Linked DNA regions of Homo sapiens: region 1 is linked to region 2. Evidence: promoter capture Hi-C in 16 types of primary human blood cells and fetal thymus (Javierre and others, 2016). All regions are on one chromosome and are shown on one strand. Each heading gives the region's core, a stretch centred on a gene start or on the middle of the fragment in contact. The rest is flanking DNA. Distances are from core to core; before and after follow the strand shown. Region 1 has its middle 140 kb from the start of MIR4280. Region 2 holds the start of LINC01949 (long intergenic non-protein coding RNA 1949).

What was found. Contacts are between HindIII fragments. The CHiCAGO score rates a contact against its expected background, and 5 or more counts as called.
Region 1: a contact is called between a fragment that was not itself captured here and the fragment with the promoter of LINC01949 in region 2, in 7 of 17 cell types (M2 macrophages, M1 macrophages, M0 macrophages and 4 more). The highest score is 26.6, in M2 macrophages.

Annotation. Positions count from the first base shown.
Region 1 is chr5:86,975,642-86,978,612 of GRCh38, forward strand. No RefSeq gene overlaps it. Among named protein-coding and RNA genes, the nearest start is that of MIR4280, 140 kb to the right of the region's middle. The HindIII fragment of the contact is 5,108 bases long and covers 1-2,971 here.
Region 2 is chr5:87,237,767-87,240,651 of GRCh38, forward strand. It overlaps LINC01949 (long intergenic non-protein coding RNA 1949), which reads right to left and starts at 1,435. Exons shown (of 3, transcript NR_130914.1): 1 at 1,300-1,435; 2 at 1,049-1,215. All of the region lies in intron 2 of LOC101929380 (a long non-coding RNA gene), which reads left to right. The HindIII fragment of the contact is 4,009 bases long and covers 1,193-2,885 here.

The DNA of each region.
Region 1 (2,971 bases), core at 431-2,930, 260 kb before region 2:
ATTTTTAAGCATTCATGACAAAGAAGAAAGAAAAAAATATTTGTTTATATGAATCATTCTTCTGTCCCATACTTACCTATGATGTCTGGTCTCATTCAGAATTAAAGGCAAAGCACATGTATCTACAAGGCAGTGTAGTCTCATGCTCCATACCCTCACTGGCTTCAGTTTCTATGGCTCTCCCTCTTAGCTTGGTTCCAGATACACTGACCATCTTGTTATCTCTTGTACGTGTCAGGGCTTTGCAGTTGCTATTTCCTTCTTTCTGCAGCACTCTTCCCTAGATCCCTACATGGCTCACTCCCTTGTCTCCTTTAAGTCTATGGTTAAATGTTAACTTATAAGTGAGTTCCTCCCTGCCTATCTAATTTAAAATAGTAACTATCCCCACCAATTCTCCCAAGTATCCCCCTTCTCATGTTCACTTTTCTTACTGAACTTGTAACATCTGACATACTACATATTTTATGTGTTTGTTTATTTTCTTTCTTATTTAACTAGAATACAAACTCCATAAGAGCAGGGATTTGTGTGGGTTTTTCTCATTGCTATATAGCCAGCATCTAGAACTATGTCATCACATACTATATGCTCAATAAATTGTTATGGCAAAAATACATTAATCAATTTAAGTTAGGGATGTTATTTCAAAAAGCAGTACTTGTTAAACCAGAATAAACTGGGTTTAATTGGAAAAAATAAATAGTACATTTATTTATAGTAAAAATGTTATTTGTGATATCTCAGAGTAAACAGGGTCTCTCAATTATGAGAATAATTCATAAGGAAGAAGAAAGGTAGAATTGGAAACCAATAGAAAACACTTCAATGTAACAAAACTAGTTAGTATAGGAAGTACCAGCTCAAACCTGGGCAGTAGAAGTTGTTGTCAGCAAAATTTGGTTTCAGGATTTTATTATTCAAGGCTTCAGGGAGTAGGAGCAGGCAGTATTTTTCCTTCTAGTTAGAGGACTGTAGGCCAGTGACCATAAATATCACCATTCTACTACCAATTTGGAACAGATAAACATAAATAGGATATATTTGACCCAGTTTGTCAAAAACTGCATTCTGTCTATATGAAGCAAATTAAAGAAAGGCATATGATTGCGGAGATCAATGCTATCTGAAACTAAGCAATTCTAACTATTGTCTAAGAATTGGAGTGCAATGCTATCATAGAGGCATTGCAAAGCTCAGGATGGTAGTTATTTCCAGGGTCATGACCCATGATTCCATGAAATGGAAATGCCACCCCTTAGCTAGGATTGTGAGAATGGGAACTTTTAAAGCACTAAGCACACCAAAAAGCCATCCTCAATGATATGGAAAGTAAGGCTTTTCTGGAAATGTTCTGGCGACAAGTGAGATTGCAGAAAATTTCAAGAGGAATGGGGCTTTCTAGATCCTATGAGCAAATATGCTTGGTTGACTATAGAGTTCTCTTTCCTTTTATAGAGGGGCTAGGGAAACAGGCAAATTTCTAGGTGGAGTATCATGCCAAGCACAGGCAGTACATGACTTTAAAGGGGAGTTGATACAGGGTCAACTTACTGTTCTCTGGATCCCATCGTAGGGAACAGGAATGGGAAGAAATATTATTTTAATGGAAACAGGAGCATACCATTCTCAAAGAGACAAAACCTTGGCAATGAGCACTGTCTTTCAAGACTATAAATCAGAGACTGAAGCCTCAGGATAGAGAATAATGTTGATACTCTCACCACACCCATTTCCTCATGCTTCAGAGACAGCTGTTCATTCTCATTCCCCAATTACGCAAATTTTTAAGTGATTTCTTCCAGTTTTGGAGAGCTCCGCCTGAAACAGTTTCTCATACTAGATTTGCATGTCATAGGGATTGAGTAGCCTGAAAGAGTGTCCATAAGATATTAGATGATATGTTTTTATCTTTTCCAGAACATGACCTGTGGAAAGAGTTTATGGGCAACTTTCTTTTCCAGCTACAGAAAATATTTTGCTGAAGGAAAGGTGTAACCTAATGAAAATATTGATTTTGAAAATATAATATGGTTTGCAACTACTTAAGTCATCCTTGGTATAAGCATTTACCGAGATAAATGGTCCTTTGTTTCTAGGAAATTATCTTGATGGGCCACAAGAGACTTTTTTATTTTACAAGATAATGGGGGCTCCCATGATAATCTAGATAGATAAATCCTAGTGTGGGAAATTGACTGAAATCTCTCTTGCGAAATAGAGTAACAGGAATTTTTTAATTATTTACTAATAACTACAAAATGTTAGTTGGCAAATGGGGTGAGAACCCTGGAAAAAGAAAGGGAATCAATCTTCACAGACAGTTGGACAGACCTTTGCTTTCCAACATGATAGCCACTAGTCACGTGACTAAATTTACATTCAAATAAAATTTAAAATTTAGTTCCTCAGCCTCGCTAACCACATGTGAAGTGCTCAATAGCCACATGTGTCCAGTGGCTACTGTATTGAACAGTGCGGAAAGTTTTGTTAAACAACTCTGGTCTAGAGAGATATGACTCTCAGGAACATGGTTTTAGGAAGGGCAGATAATTGTTTTCTCGCTGTAAGGAAGTTCTATTTTTTGTGAGTTGTCAACAGAAATGTGTTTTGCCCAGAATTTCAGTCATTAATATTAATGGTACTTTGGAGAATGGAGAAAGAGAAGCAAAGTTCCAAAGTTGGGGGGACTAGCCACAAAGTAAACAGAAGCCTGATGTTCAGCAGGAGACATGACAATGAGTGCTGGAGATGACAGTAAAGAAGCAAACTTCAAGCAACCTCGATTTTTTTTCAAATGTTTTAGGGAAAGTTAGCCCTCAAAAGAATGAAGTGGATTGAAGCTAGGTAGTGCTATTTTATAAAAAGAAATTTGAGCCATTTTATTTAAATGTTAGAATAAATGGTAGCTCCAAAAACTGGAGGACTTGTTGATTTCCAAGAGGCAGACATTTTGCTTACCCTCATATAA
Region 2 (2,885 bases), core at 185-2,684:
TCTAAAAGTCTTAAAGTTTTGCTCTTTGTATTTAAGTTTCTTTCATCTGAAGTATATTCCATGTAAATAGAGTGAGGCAGAGATCTTTCTGACTTTTTCCCATGTGACTAACCAATTATCCCGGCATTATTTGTTATTTTTTTATTTTACTCCTGAATTTTAATGTCACACTTGTCATACACCAAGTTATCAAATATGTGAATCTGTTCTGAGTTTTGTTTTGTTGGTCTATTAATTTTATTTCTGACACAATAATACAGTTGTATAATTACAACATTAGAATATCAATATCTGGTAAAGTAATATCAGTGAAACTGATTTATGAATTGCATGTAAAAATTTTAAGGCCACCATGTCAATGTAATTAGCACTGGCCTACAGATAACCTATTGATTTGACCACTTTGCTCTTGTATGTAGAAACTTTGCTTAACTCTCCTATTCCAGTTCTTCAGCTGTACAATTATTGGATTTTCTATAAAAAAAAATATTCAAATAATCAATATTTGATCTTCCCTAATCCATATAACTGGTTATTTCTTTCTTATTTCATTGGTTAGGAACTCCAGAGCAATGATGATTATTGGTGGAGATAATAAGTATTAATGCTTGTTCCTAATGTTAATGGGAATTTTATAACTCTCATACATTATTTCTAGGATAAATCATATTTGATCATAATGCATTTTTTAAAATGCTTGATTCAATTTGTCAACATCTTATGATACTTGCATGTACTCATAAGGAAGATTAACCTATAATTTTTCTTTCTCTTATTTTTCTAGTTCAGCTAACTAGAATATATTAACTTCATGAGAGAAACTACAGAATTTTCCTCTTTTTCTGTATTTTGTAGCATTTTGTGCTAAAGAGATTTTTCTGTGCTTTGAATGTTTGTTGGTAATCCCTGTGTAAAATTTTCTAGACTTACTGTTATTTATTTTGGGTAGGTTTTTGCTTACTAATTCAATTTTTCCAAAGGCTTTCTCCTCAGACATAGATTTACTCTTGAGTCAATTTTGGTAATTTAAATTTTTAGTGATGCCCACCTGCAAAGGGCCAGGTCTGGCATACAGTTTGAAATTTGCTGCCAGAGTCCCATTTTGCAATCCCGAACTTCTGGTGGAGACTGGGGTGTCCATGGCCCACTACCCAGTGGCGAGTAAACTCTTTGCTCCCAGACTGTTGCAAGAAGCTTAAAGGATGGCCTCCAGATCTGGAACAATTATGTTCTCATATTAATAAAAAGATTAACAATATTTTTAAAAATCTGTCATTGAGAAACTGGCCAAGAACCTACCTTGAAGAATATCTTAATAGGAGATGAGATCACTGTAAGAAATGAACTTCTAAATAAATTTGAATAGGAAATTCAGTATTAAGAACAAACCAACAATTCACTCAAGGAACTCTGTAAATCTCTTGAAGAATATTATAAAATGTGGAATATCTCAAAGAAAACTTTCCTTCCCATGTGCCTCAAATAACAGGTCTCAAACTCCTAGCCTCAATCAGTCCTCCCACCTCAGCCTCCCAAAGTGCTGGGATTACAGGTGTGAGCCACTGTCCCCAGCCATAATTTATTTATATTTTATTTCTTTAGCTTTTTCATCTTCTATCCTGTTTCATATAAAATTCAAACTTTTTTGGATAAATTTTTTAATCAAATGCTTCCGTTTAAGTTAGTTTTAGCATTTATTTTTATAAAATTTTAGCATGTAATTTTAAAATAATTTTTTATATTTTAAGATCATACCTGTCCATGTGACTCCAATTCAGCTGTAAAAGATCTGAGAAATATTTGATCTGTTGTCCAGGAAGAAAAGGAGAGGAGGAACATTCTTCTATCATTTCACTCTTACCTGTATATGAAGAATATACTTACCTCCCCCGAAGGAGGACAATCTGAAGTCCCTTCTAGTTAGTGCATTCAGCTCAAAGCCCAAGACATTCAAGAAATGTGTCATCTTCTCCAATACGTGAATGTTTGAATTCTCCTGAAATAAAATCCCATGAACTGAAGAAATATCCTGTCTTTACCACCACTCCCATATACACCTACATGTGAGGGTGCATGCATGCACATGAACACACACACATCTAATATACAAAATGAATCAAGGACAGAAGTAGCTATAATAGGAATCTGATTAGTAAGGGTAGGAATGGAAGGCAAGCAACAGTAACCAGTGCATATAGATCTTAAACAACAGATCGCCAAACACACTGCAGAATGATAAGAGGGTCTGAAATGTAATACATCAAGTGTTAATGTGCCAGACCTAGAAGTGGCAAATGTCACTTGGACATATTCCACTGGCTAAAACTCAGTTACATAGGCCCAGTAAAATGATAAAAAGCCTATGTAAGTTTTGGTTGTATGCCAAAAAAGAAGAGGACAAAATGGATATTGATGTGCACTAACAGTCTGTGTCATCATGGTGACATGATCCTTCTATCATGAAGTAATCAACCTCTTTAGAGAAAAATCATTATTAGACTTAAAGTTGTTTTCTAATATCAATATTACTGTCAGATCTATTTTGGTCCGGTTCCTGGTGTACAGTTTTTCAACCTATGACAGTAAGTTCTCAACGTTGTTGATAGGGTCTTGGAAACTTCAACTTCAAGTGAGATGCCATGTAACAAAACCAGTTTTACTATAGGCTAATTAATATAAACAAGAATTAGTTCCTATGGCATATTTGTATCACAAAAACATCAACAAATTTCTAAGTGAAGACTTGAAACACTTCTAATGTTGAATATTGATATAAATGTAAGCTATACATACATTTAAGAAAAATCAACAAAAATAAGTAAGCAATTTGTCCAATTTTTGGTGAATCAGTGAGTGACAGCCGTCATCCTGGTGGTAGGTTAAAT